Linked DNA regions of Homo sapiens: region 1 is linked to region 2. The links are contacts of gene promoters, found by promoter capture Hi-C in human tissues and cell types (Jung and others, 2019). All regions are on one chromosome and are shown on one strand. Each heading gives the region's core, a stretch centred on a gene start or on the middle of the fragment in contact. The rest is flanking DNA. Distances are from core to core; before and after follow the strand shown.

What was found. The method cuts DNA at HindIII sites, captures the fragments that hold promoters and counts their contacts. A contact is called where the count stands out against the background at its distance.
Region 1: a fragment that was not itself captured here is called in contact with the fragment with the promoter of SH3GLB2 in region 2 in 1 of the 25 tissues and cell types used here (dorsolateral prefrontal cortex).

What each region holds. Positions count from the first base shown.
Region 1 is chr9:128,850,820-128,857,698 of GRCh38, reverse strand. The region is part of intron 1 of KYAT1-SPOUT1 (KYAT1-SPOUT1 readthrough); the gene reads left to right. The region is part of intron 1 of KYAT1 (kynurenine aminotransferase 1); the gene reads left to right. Among named protein-coding and RNA genes, the nearest start is that of SPOUT1, 24 kb to the right of the region's middle. The HindIII fragment of the contact is 3,957 bases long and covers 1-3,401 here.
Region 2 is chr9:129,024,095-129,030,949 of GRCh38, reverse strand. SH3GLB2 (SH3 domain containing GRB2 like, endophilin B2) reads left to right here and starts at 2,619. Exons shown (of 11, transcript NM_020145.4): 1 at 2,619-2,858. The coding sequence starts at 2,796. RefSeq lists enhancers at 903-1,642, 1,643-2,382, 3,067-3,630, 3,631-4,194, 4,195-4,758 and 1 more and silencers at 2,257-2,686, 2,727-3,236, 4,119-4,350. The HindIII fragment of the contact is 26,388 bases long and covers 1-6,855 here.

The DNA.
Region 1 (6,879 bases), core at 174-2,673, 170 kb after region 2:
ACGCCCAGCTAATTTTTTGTATTTTTAGTAGAGACGGGGTTTCACTGTGTTAGCCAGGATGGTCTTGATCTCCTGACCTTATGATCCGCCTGCCCTGGCCTCCCAAAGTGCTGGGATTACAGGCGTGAGACACCGTCCCCAGCCCATACATTTAGTTATGTGATTCACTTTGAATTAATTTTTGTGTATGGGGCAGGGCACATGGCTCACGCATGTAATTTCAGCACTTTGGGAAGCTGAGTGAAGCGGTGGCCTGTCCCTCCACACCTGTGGGTATCTCATCAGGTGGGACGAGAGACTGAGAAAAGAAGTAAGACACAGAGATGAAGTATAGAGACAACAGTGGGCCCAGGAGACTGGCAAGCAGCATATCAAGGACCTGCACCAGCATCGGTTTCTGAGTTTCCTCACTTTTTATTGATTATTATTTTTATTATCTCAGCAAGAGGAATGCAGTAGGAGAGCAGGGTGATAATAAGGAGAAGGTCAGCAAAAAAACATGTGAGCAAAAGAATCTATGTCATAATTAAGTTCAAGGGGAGGTACTATGCCTGCATGTGCACGTAGGCCGGATTTATGTTTCTCCCCGCCCAAACATCTCAGTGGAGTAAAGAATAACAAGGCAGCATTGCTGCCAACATGTCTCGCCTCCCGCCATAGGGCGGTTTTTCTCCTATCTCAGAATTGAACAAATGTATAATCAGGTTTTATACCGAGACATTCAGTTCCCAGGGGCAGGCAGGAGACAGTGGCCTTCCTCTATTTCAACTTCAAGAGGCTTTCCTCTTTTACTAATCTACCTCAGCACAGACCCTTTACGGGTGTTGGGCTGGGGGACAGTCAGGTCTTTCTCATCCCACAAGGCCATATTTCAGATTATCACATGGGGAGAAACCTTGGACAATACGTGGCTTTCCAAGGCAGAGGTCCGTGCGGCTTTCCGCAGTGCGTTGTGCCCCTGGTTTATTGAGATTAGAGAATGGCGATGACTTTTACCAAGCATACTGCTTGTAAACATTTTGTTAACAAGGCATATCCTGCACAGCCCTAGATCCCTTAAACCTTGATTCCAGACAACACATGTTTTTGTGAGCTCAAAGTTGGGGCAAAGTGGCTGGGGCAAAGTTACAAATTAACAACATCTCAGCAAAGCAATTGTTCAAGGTACAGGTCAAAATGGAATTTCTTATGTCTTCCCTTTCTACATAGACACAGTAACAGTCTGATCTCTCTTTCTTTGCCGTACATATCCCCCTTTTCTTTTTGACAAAACCGCCATAGTCATTATGGCCTGTTTTCGCTGGTTGCTGTCTCTCTGGAGCTGCTGGATACACCTGTAGACCAGCAACAGAGAACAGACATACAAGGATTAATACAAAATTTGCAATAGTGGAACTTCCAGTGGTTTTAACCCAAGTGATGGGGTTAAGATTTGTGAGGCCATCAGCAGCTTTCACCATTGCCTCAGTTTCTGGCACCAGATTGAACTGGGCTTTTGATGCCTCAAAAATTTGTTATTTTAATTTTAAAATATCTAAAGTAAGGTTATCTTCTCTTCCTTGTAGATGGCGTCTAACCATGTCCCAGTGATGTTCAGATTCATTATAGGCTCGAGGTGTAATACAAAAATCTGACATATTCCAGTCACACTGTAACTGAAAAAGATATTCTAAGCTCATGAGCCTATCTCTCATTCAAATGACAGTTTGTCTACGATCATTAATTTGGTTTGCCAATTTTTGGTCTATTTGAGTCTGAGAATTCCACAATTTTGAGGAGTTCTTTTGCCAATTATTTATATATTTTGTAGTTTGAACAGAGGAGTGTAAAGCAATTCCAGCAGCCGCAGCAGTAGCTGTGACTGCAATAAGACCCATAATCACTGCAATTAAAGTAAAAAATGAATCTTTTGGATCTAGTTAGAACTCCTTTTAATACTTCTGTTAAAATATGGATGGATGGGGAAGCCTCCCACGGTCGGTCCATGGACACAGGGATCCACACACCCTCTCTTGCCCTCACTGGCAGAATATGGTGCTGCCAATCAAAAGTTGAATCAATGCAAGTAAACAATCTACAATTTTCACAGGTTATAGTTTGGGAATCTGGTTTAATAACTATGTTTCCTACAACTAGCATATAAGAGGGTTTTACACAACTTTGCAAAGGAATTGTCGGATTGGAATTTAGGTTAATAGTATAATGTGGCTTATGATTTCTTGTTCCGATAACTTGATTTCCAGACCAAATTCTAATGTGGTGCGAGGCCACAGTAAGCTTTCATAATGCTGGATGTTCAGGAGCAGTAACAGGACTAACTAACTTTGGTTGAGGTGATGAAATCCCCTTTTCACCCCATTTCCATGGATAGGGTGATTCTAGCCTTCTATAAACCTGGTCTAGCCTTTCAGTTAAATCACTATCATAGGCCGGATTAGTGGGCCAGACAGATGGGGTCTGTGAACATGAGTGAGTCTGGCCCATACAACCATAATATAATTGGTTTTGAGGGGCCCAGTCTATAATAGTTCCAAATTTATTGTTTTGTAATACCACCACAGTATCAGCCACATATTTTTCCCAAACTAAGACTTCTGGGTCTTTTGATTCTTTGGGAATTTCCTTGAGGCAAGGTCCCCTTAGGCCTAAATTTTAATGATCTTTGATAAGAAGAGTCCTGTAAATTATTCATTTGTGACCCAAGTGACATTCCACTTACCATATGATAAGTAAATTTATTGGTGGCACTGACAGTAGATACTTCTACCAACCAATTTTGGGTTGTAGGCATTAAGCATCCTGGTGCTTTCCCCAGGCAAATAGGAGGATAATGATACCCAGTGGAAATGTTTATCATCATTCCTTCTTCTTCAGGTTGGGCAGGGCCGCGGTCATCTGTGGGTCCTGGTACCCATGCACTAATATTAACACATACTTCAATAGAATATTATCCATCCAAGTGACTGCCTGAATTAAGGGCGGGAAAGGCACATAGGCCCAGTAAGTATAATTAGCTGCAGCTGCTCCTGCAGACATAGTGAGACTTACCACCATTGATACAATCATTAAAGCTGCAAGCAGCATATTCTCTGGAGTTTGTGTTACCCTTGTGTACTTTAGGCTTTTTTCAGCTAACTGTGTCAGCTTCTTTAGCTGGGCCCAGGTCGGCGGCTTCGCTTTTTTGGTGGATGGCAACTTTTTCTGTAAGTTGTAGGTACCCAAACTGGAAGCTGATTTTCTCCTGGTGAAACACGAGCAAAACCTCTCCCCCACGTTATCACCTTCTCTATTTTTTATGTTTTATTTTTGTTGTCTTTTTACCAAATCAGTTTTTCCTCATGTGGGCTGTTCTTTTTACCAGTAAAATGTTGTTCTGCAGAAGTAGCGGTCTGATTTCTATAAATGTTAAAAAAATTTAAAGTATAGAGTGCTAGATTAAGTTGCATCTGGGGAGTGTTATATTCCTTACTGTCCTTTTCCTTTTTTTGTTTAACCAATTGAGCTTTGAGTGTTCTATTACTTCTTTCAATTATGGCCTGTCCTTGGGAATTATAAGGGATTTCTGTTGTGTGTGTAATTTTCCACTGATTTAAGAATTTTTGAAATGCTTTACTACAGTATCCTGGCCCATTATCTGTTTTAATTTTTTATGGAACTCCCATGACAGCAAAACAAGATAATAAATGTCTTTTAACATGGGAAGTATTTTCTCCTGTCTGGCAGGTTGCCCATATGAAATGTGAATAAGTATCAACTGTCACATGGACAAATGACAATTTTCCAAATGAAGGTACATGTGTGACATCCATTTGCCATAATGCATTGGGACATAAACCTCTGGGATTAACTCCTGCCTCCTGAGTGGGCACATGTAGGACTTGACACTGAGTACAATGTTGTACAACATTTTTTGCCTGTTTTCATATGATATCAAATTTATTTTTTAGTCCTGATGCATTTACATGAGTCAAGGCACGAAGTTTTTATGCTTTTATGAATGCAGATGATACTAGCAAGTCAGCTTGTTCATTTGCCTTAGTTAAAGGCCCTGGTAAATTAGTATGTGTTCGAATATGAGTAATATAAAATGGGAAATTTCTTTTTCTTACAGTTTGTTGTAACGAATTAAACAGCTGATTTAACTGATCATCCATACTATATTTGATTAGGGCTGTCTCAACATCCTTTGTAGCCTGTACTACATATGCAGAATCTGAAACAATGTTAATAGGCTGATTAAAACCTTGTAACACTGAAATGACAGCAACCAACTCTGCTCTTTGAGCTGAGTGATATTGAGTTTCAATGACTTGTTCTTTTGGCCCAGTTTAAGCCACTTTTCCATTGCTGGAACAATCAGTAAACGCCATCAGAGCATTTTCTAAAGGTTTATATCTGGTAATTTTAGGTAAAATCCAAGTAATCAATTTTAAGAACTGGAAGATTTTTGTTTTTGGGTAATGATTGTCAATAATTCCCACAAAATCAGCAAGACCAATCTGGCATGCAGCAGAATTGATAAAAGCTTGTCTAACCTGTTCCTTGTTTAAAGGAACAATGATTTTATCTGGGTCACTTCCACACAATTTTACTATATGTAGTCTTGCCTGACCAATTAATGTAGCCATTTGATCTAAGTACAATGTAAAAGTCTTAGTTGTACTGTGAGGAAGGAATGACCACTCTGCAAGATCAGTATTTTGAACAATAATGCCTGTTGGAGAATGTGCAGTAGCAAAAATCAAAAGTTGGAGTGGGGCTAAATGATCTATTCTATTTACTTGTGCTGACCGAATTTTTTCTTCAACTAATTCAATTTCTTTAGTTGCTTCTGGAGTTAATGGTTTTTTACTGTTTAAGTCTGGATCCCCTCTCAAGATAGAAAACAAATTTGACATGGCATAAGTAGGGATGCCTAGAGTTGGCCGAATCCAATTAATATGTCTTAGCAATTTTTGAAAGTCATTTAATGTTTTTTAATGTGTCTTTTCTTATTTTTATTTTTTGTGGTTTAATTTTCCTTTCCTCTACCTGCATTCCCAAATAATGGAAAGGAGTAGAGGTCTGAATCTTATCAGATGCTATTGTCAGTCCTGCGTTTGCAACATCTGTCTGCAGAAATGTGTAACAGTCAATTAATTTGTCTCTTGTTTCTGCAGCACACAAAATATCATCAACATAATGAATGACATAACAATCTGAAAACTTGTCTCTAACTGGTTGAAGAACTTGAGCTACAAAAGTCTGACAAATAGTTGGACTGAGGCAACACTTTCCACTAAAACCTGGCTGGTTCTTTATTATTTACGGCTGGTATAGTAAAAGCAAATTTTTCAAAATCCTGTTTTGCCAGAGGAATGGTAAAAAAGCAGTCCTTCAGATCAATTATAATTAAAGGCCAGTCTTTGGGGATCATGGCCAGAGAGGGCATCCCGGGTTGGAGAGCACCCATGGGTTGTATTATGGCATTAACAGCTCTTAAGTCAGTCAGCATGCGCCATCTGCCTGATTTTTTCTGAATTACAAACACAGGAGAATTCTAAAGAGAGAAAGTGGGTGAAACATGTCCTTTTTTAAATAGTTTTTTAACTATTTTATGTAGCGCCCCCAACTTTTCCTTAGAGAGTGGCCACTGTTTGACCCATACAGGACACTGCAGGGCGAGTCTGAATTGCTCCTTCACTGTAGTGAACTGTAGGTTGGGCAATAATGAGTGCCACGAGCCAAGTCGCAGTGTGCCTAGTTTCAGGCTGCCTCCCCCAGCACTCACTCGGCTGAGGAGGAGGTGGCCATTGTGGTTGTAGCCCCAATGGCCCCAATGATTCTGGACTTTTTCCTTTTAATTTTAATGTTTCAGGATATATTACCTCCTGTAATTGATTGTAGTCAACACTTTGCGTTGACTGAGCCATTACCGGCTCTGCTACATATTTACAATGTGAACTTTCCGTTCCTTTCTTGAACTCTGTCTCTGCCTCTTCTTCACAATCTATCACACAGCTTTCAGGGGCATCAGAAACTGAAATGCTATCTTCTTCTATTTGAAATGGTTCTAAAGTTGCTTTAATAATGGCCCAATCATTCCATACTGTAAGTGGGATGATTTTACCTTCCCTACTTGCTTGTTTTAATTCCTTGCCAATTTTTTCCCAATCTTTTAAATCTAAAGTTCCTTGTTCTGGAAACCATGGGCAGAATTGTTCTATTGTTTGAAATAGCGTAATTAGATTTTCTGTAGAAGCTTTAACTCCCCCTCTTCTTAAGAGAATTTTAATGAAGCTGAGATAAGAGGCATATTTACTTTCAGTTTGCCCCATTGTTACCCTGGATTCCTCCGAGCGCACAAGCATACTGCAAGGCTGACCGTGGACGTACTCGGGAATCTCTCATCAGCTGTCCTCAATACTCACGTTCTCAGCATAACTTCACCCTGGAGAAAGGCCCCATATTGGGCGTCAGATGAAGGGGTGGCCTGCCCCTCCATACCTGTGGGATATCTCGTCAGGTGGGATGAGAGACTGAGAAAAGAAATAAGACACAGAGACAAAGTGTAGAGAAACAACAGTGGGCCCAGGAGACCGGCATGCAGCATATCAAGGACCTGCACCAGTACCGGTCTCTGAGTTTCCTCACTTTTTATTGATTATTATTTTTATTATCTCAGCAAGAGGAATGCAGTAGGAGAGCAGGGTGATAATAAGGAGAAGTTCAGCAAAAAACATGAGCAAAAGAATCTGTCATAATTAAGTTCAAGGGGAGGTACTATGCCTGCATGTGCATGTAGGCCGGATTTATGTTTCTCTCCACCCAAACATCTCAGTGGAGTAAAGAATAGCAGGCAGCATTGCTGCCAATGTGTCTCGCCTCCCGCCATAGGGT
Region 2 (6,855 bases), core at 1,370-3,869:
CCTCCCAGAGTGCTGGGATTACAGGCGTTTGCCACCGCACCTGGCCTACATCTTGATTTCTTTTTTTTTTTTTTTTTTTTTTTTTTGAGATGGAGTTTCTCTCTTGTTGCCCAGGCTGGAGTGCAATGGCGCTATCTCAGCTGACCGCAACCTCTGCCTCCCGGGTTCAAGCGATTCTCCTGCCTCAGCCTCCCAAGTAGCTGGGATTATAGGCATGCGCCAGCACGCCTGGCTAATTTTGTATTTTTAGTAGAGACAGAGTTTCTCTATCTTGGTCAGCTGGTCTTGAACTCCTGATCTCAGGTGATTCGCCCGCCTTGGCCTCCTGGGATTACATGTATGAGCCACCATGCCTGACTAGATTTTTTTAAAGTTAACACTGGCTAAATGAATGATATAGTCAGCTATAAACAGATGATAGTAAATAAGTCCATGATCAATACAGACAAATAGAAACAAACACATAGTGAACACAAAAACAGAAACACAGAGAATCAGAGTTGAGGGATTGCAGATGTGTGAATGACATGAAAGTTGATGAAGGCAACATGTACATACTGGCCCAAGTACATGACAGGATGGCCCAGGTAGGTGGAGTTTTGAAAGCTCCCAGGTGATTTAATGTTAGAGCCATTGACTTGTTGACCCAGAACCAGGGCTGGGAGAGGGAACAGGGTCTGGATTTTGAACAAGCCCCCAGGTGACTTGAGGCTCACCCTGCAGAGCCATGCTGGGATAGGTGACAGAAACTGGGGTAAGTATAGAAAGATGAACAAAGCCAGATAGAAGAGGGTACAGCTTGGGAACAGAGCTCTCCACTGGGTTCAAAGGTGAAACCTAGGCCGGGCGTGGTGGCTCACACCTGTAATCCCAGCACTTTGGGAGGCGGAGGCAGGTGGATCACGAGGTCAGGAGTTCAAGACCAGCCTGACCAACATGGTGAAACCCCGTCTCTACTAAAAATACAAAAATCAGCCGGGCGTGGTGGCACATGCCTGTAATCCCAGCTACTGTGGAGGGTGAGGCAGGAGAATCGCTTAGACCCCGGGAGGCGGTGGCTGCAGTGAGCTGAGATGGTGCCACTGCATTCCAGCCTGGGTGAAAGAGCGAGACTCCATCTCAAAAAGAAAAAAAAAAAAAAAGAGGAAACCTAGAGGTAGACAGCAAGGAGAGGTGAAGACCAGTACAAAGCCTCTATCTGAGCCCCAAGGGAAGGCATTTGGGGTCAGGAGCACCTGTAGGTCATCTCCTTGCCTGGGGCTGTGAGGAGCTGGTTTCAAGGTTATCACACATCTGTGCTCCCAGGGCAGCTCATTCTCTCCACCCTGACAGTCACCCAACCTTTGATCTCCTCCTCTCACCACACAGGGGGCTCCAGGCCCCAGCTCCAGAACCCCCTCCCTTCCCGTGACCGCCACCCCAACCCTCCTCCAATTTGGGGAAGCCACAGGGCCTCCCAGGCTGACAAACAGCTGTTCCAGCGGTGGAGGGCAAGTCCCAAGCCTGACTCCGGCTCAGTCACCAAGGTCAGGGCAGAAGAGAGGAGGAGAGGTCAGAGAGGAGGAGTAACGGGAGGAAACCCAAGGGAAACAGAGTGGAAGAAATGGGAATGGGAGGGAGGGGGTGTGAATAAAGAGCGGAGATGAAGAGGCACAAACAGGGGAGAGGCAGCAGGCCTGGGTGGTGGGAGGAGAAAGCAAGAGAGGCCCATTTTAGAGATCTGTTGCACATATTGGTGACTACTCAGTCACTTAGTGACTTTGGGAGACTGAGGCAGGCAGATTGCCTGAGATCAGGAGTTCAAGACCACCCTGGGCAACATGGCAAAACCTTGTCTCTCCTAAAGTACAAAAAATTAGCGGGGCATGTTGGTGGGCGCCTGTAGTCCCAGCTACTCGGGAGGCTGAATGAAGCAGGAGAATCGCTTGAGCCCGGCAGGTGGAGGCTGCAGTGAGCCGAGATCGCGCCACTGCACTCCAGCCTGGGCGACAGAGCAAGACTCTGTCTACAAAAAAAAAAAAAAAGTATTGCATATTTCAAAATTGCTAAAAGAGTACATTTGAAATGTTCTAACCACAAAAAAAGTAGGTGAGGTGATGGATATGTCAATTAACTTGATTTCATCATTCCACAATTTCATCACCTTGTAGGCCGTAAATATATATTTATCAATTAAAACTTTTGAAAAGCATTGGTAAGATGGCAAATAATATGTAATTATGGCGTGTACCTGCAATCATCTAAGAGCACATGTGTTCCAGTTTTAATAATTTTAGTAAAAGGAAAAAAAGAGGCCGGCCCAATCCGCGGCGGCAGGCGCATGGGGGCAGCAGCGAGCACTGCCCAGCAGCGAGCCCTGCCCAGCACAACCTGCTCCCCAGACCAACCCCCGCTCTGGCCGCGCCAAGGCCTCGCCCCCACCCATGTAGCTCCGCCCCACTGCCCTCTCGCTCCGCCCCTGTCCCGCCAGTCCCGCCCCCTCCGACTCCGCCCGGCTTCCGCCAACCAGCCCGGCCCCCGCCCCTCTAGCTCCGCCCCACTGCCGTCCCGTCCCGCCCCGGCACCGCCAGCTCCGCCCCCGCCCCTCTGGCTCCGACCCGCGGCCTCCGCGCCCCGCCCTGCGCGCTCGGGCTGGCTCGGCGGCTGCGGCGGGCGGGCAGGCGGGCAGGCCGGCAGGCGGGTGCGCGGAGGGCTGGTGCCCCGCAGCAGGTGGGCGGGGTGCGGTTGGCGGCGGCGGCTGGGCCGGGGGCTGCCGGCTGCGCTCGGGCCGTGCGCGGCGGCCGTGCGGGCACGCCATGGACTTCAACATGAAGAAGCTGGCGTCGGACGCGGGCATCTTCTTCACCCGGGCGGTGCAGGTGAGGCCTGGCGTCGCGCCGTGCGCCGGGGGCCCGGATGTGCGGCGGGCGGGGAGCACCCTGCGGCAGACGCCTGGGGACGCGGGAAAGCCCTCCCGGGCTGCTGCCCTCGTCCCCGCCGCGGCACACCTCTGCCCCCCTGAGCCCTTGCTGACCGGAAGAGGGAAAGAGCCCGTGCGGCCCGAGCCGGGCCTTGGCCCTGCTGCCTGGGGCGAGGCACCGGTGCCCACCCTTTGGGCTGGTTGGGTTACCCTGCTCCCCTGGCGCCTGCCTGGCTGAGGAGGGGAGGAGGCACCGGCTGGGTGCTACCTCCCTGCCCTTGTCCAGCAGTGACTGGCGCCTGGCGGGGCATTTAGCGACCTGGGTCCCAGGCCCAGGGACTCATGCGTCCACCACAACCCCTTCTCCGAGCCTCAGTCTCCGCACCTGTGCAATGGGCGGCTGGTGCCATGAGTCCCTCATGGCCATTTCACACGTTTGGATAGTCAGGCCGGAAGCCAGGAGTTGTTTCTTTTCTGCTCCACGGGAGGTCTGTTTCCTTGGTCCCTGGGCCTGGGGGATGGAGAGAGGGCTGGGGTCTGGCTGGGAAGCTGTCCAGGCCCACGATGCTGAGATTGGAAGAAGTCCTATCCGTTTAGGGGCAGAGAGTAACAGGCAACTCAACATCATGGGAAGACCTAGGGTCAGGTGTGGGTGGGAATGTGCCCTCCTGTGACCTTGGGGGAGGGGCCTTCATCTCACTGGGCCTCAGTTTCTCAGTCTGAAAAATGGGATCAGTATTCCTGCCTCCCAGGACAGATGCGAGGATTCTGTGGGACTCTGCATATGTGTGCTCACCAAAGGCAAGCTCATTATTGGTGTCAAAGTGGTTAATATTGCACCTGTGCAGCATGTGACCTTGGACAAGTCACTTCTCTCAGAGCCCCGCCCTCCCCTTCTGTAAATCTGGTGTAACACCGTGGTTATGGGATTCAGTGGGATTCCGCAGGCCCGGGGCTGGCCCATCCCAGGGTTCTGGGAGCAGGTCCTGTAGTCTTGTCTTTGTCGTTGTCGTTGTCATCGTTGTTGTTTCTGTTGAGTACAGTTCTCTCCCCACCCCCAACCCGGGCACTCCCCTCCCCAGGAGCCCACACCCAGCCAGCAACCCATGTAGTCATGTTTACTAGAAGGTGCTGTGTCCCGCTGAGGATTAGCATCCCAGCGAGAATTCACTGCTTAATGTGTTCCAAGTCTGGTGGGCAGCCCCAGCCCTAGTGGAGATGCCAGGATCCCAGAGCCCCTCGGATTGGACGGCCCCAGTCCATCTGGGAGGGGGGAACCCACTCTGCTGTTGGTATGGCAACCACACTATCTCCCACATCTGGGAAGAACCTGATCTGCCAGTTCCCTGCTAGGGCTGGGGCCCTGCTGCCTGACCTGGCCAGGGCTCTCAGGACCTAGGCAGGGCAGGGCCTAGGTGTGGCTCCGCTTGGTGGGAGCTGCCCCACAGGGTCACTGTTACTGGAGTGGGAGCCAGCAGTCAGGCCCCAGCCTCGGGGTGGGAGGGAGGGAGCTGAGAGCTTTATAAATAGAGGCTTTCTCTGCTCTGCACGCCCACCCCACTGCTGCCATTTTCCCGGGAGCAGCCTCGGACTCCAGCACCAAACCCCTTCCTCTTGGCAGGATTGGGGCAGAGTGGCAGGCCAGGGGATAGAGAGGCCTGAAATGTGACCTGGCAGGAGAGGCCACAGAGGGGCTCCGCCTGAGACCAAGCTGGCCTGGATGGGAGACAGTCAGGAGGGATGGGAGAGGGGTTCTTTATGATCAATACATGTGATGGGCTCAGGAACCTCCCAGTCCCTGCAGGTACAAGAAACAACTTTAAGAGCCTCCCCGATCCAGCAAGGAACAAGGCCTTGGCCCTGAGATGAGGATCCAGAGGGCAGGATCCCTTTTGTATGGGTCATTCTGGGATGGTCTCCTGCATGGAGGGCCCCTGAACTGTGCTCAGAAAGTAGGGAGGGGCTCATGATGTTGGTCCAAGTGGCAGGAGCAGCCCAGATAAGGGCACCGAGGCAAGAAAACCTAAGGCAGATTTGGACAAGATGCCAGTGGGGGTGGGAGAGGGCAGGAGGAGTGATAGTACTAATACTATTAGTAGTAATTGCAGTAACAGTAATAGTAGTGGTAGAAGTAATACTTATAAAGTCCAGAGAGGTGGTGGCATCGTCATCATGGAGCTAGGCAGACTGCAGTGGACATGGGATGGATGCCGTCTAGTTTGGGAAAGCCTGGTAGAACTTCTCACCTGGGCAGATGTGGCCTGTAAGGGAGGGCGGGGTGGGGAGTGCTGCTCTGAACCTTGGTAAGGAGGGGAGGTGTTGAGGTGCACATTTAGGGTGATGCCCTTGGTACCATCAGGGTAGCTCCTGAGAGCTGAGGAGGGATGTGAGGGAGGCCTGCCTGCCTGCCTGCCTGCCTGCCTGCCTTCCTTCCTTCCTCCCTTAGTCCCTCTCTCCTTTCTTCTTTCCTTCCTTTTTTTTTTTTGAGACAGAGTCTCATCCTGTCGCCGAGGCTGGAGTGCAGTGGCACAATCTCGGCTCACTGCAACCTCCACCTTTCAGGTTCAAGTGATTCTTCTGCCTCAGCCTCCCGAGTAACTGGGATTATAGGCACCTGCCACCACTCCTGGCTAATTTTTTTTTTGTACTTAGTAGAGACAGGGTTTCACCACGTTGGCCAGGCTGGTCTCAAACTCCTGGGCTCAAGTGATCCTCCTGCCTCGGCCTCCCAAAGTGCTGATATTACAGGTATGAGCCACCATGCCTGGCCTTTTTTTTTTTTTTTTTGAGACGGAGTCACTCTGTCACGCAGGCTGGCGCAGTCTCAGCTCACTGCAGCCTCCGCCTCCCCGGTTCAAGCAATTCTCCTGCCTCAGCCTCCCGAGTAGGTGGGATTACAGGCGCCCACCACCACGTCATGCTAATTCTTGTATTTTTAGTAGAGATGGGGTTTTACTATGTTAGCCAGGCTGGTCTCGAACTCCTGACCTCACGTGATTCACCTGCCTTGGCCTCCCAAAGTGCTGGGATTACAGGCGTGAGCCACCATGCCTGGCTTCCTTGCTGTCTTTTTTTTTTTTTGAGATGGAGTCTCGCTCTGTCACCCAGGCTGGAGTGCAGTGGCGTGATCTCGGCTCACTGCAAGCTCCACCTCCCAGGTTGATGCCATTCTCCTGGCTCAGCCTCCCGAGTAGCTGGGATTACAGGCGCCTGCCACCACGCTTGGCTAATTTTTTGTATTTTTAGTAGAGATGGGGTTTCACCGTGTTAGCCAGGATGGTCTTGATCTCCTGACCTCGTGATCCGCCCACCTCGGCCTCCCAAAGTCTTTCTTTTTTTAAGGCAGGTTCTTGGTCTGTCACCCAGGCTGGAGTGCAGTGACATGATATTGGCTCATTGCAACCTCCGCCTCCTGGGCTCCCACCTCAGCCCCTTGAGTAGCTGGGACTACAGGTGGGTGCCACCACGCCCAGCTAATTTTTTTTTTTTTTTTTGAGACTGAGTCGCACTCTGTGGCCCAGGCTGGAGTGCAGTGGGGCGATGCTCATTGCAAGCTCCGCCTCCCAGGTTCATGCCATTCTCCTGCCTCAGCCTCCCGAGTTACTGGGTCTACACGTGCCCGCCACCACACCCGGCTAATTTTTTGTATTTTTAGTAGAGAAGGGGTTTCACCTTGCTAGCCAGGATGGTCTCGATCTCCTGACCTCGTGATCCGCCTGCCTTGGCCTCCCAAAGTGCTGGGATTATAGGCATAAGCCACCGTGCCGGGCTTTTTTTTTTTTTTTTTTTTTTTTGTAGAGAGGAGGTCTCACGGTTGCCCAGGCTGGTCTTGAACTCCTGGGCTCAATCCATCTGCCCACATCGGCCTTCCAAAGTGCTGGGATTATAGGCATGAGCCACTGCACCTAGCCAAGGCTTTTCATTAATGATGGTGATAATAATACTAGCTAACATGT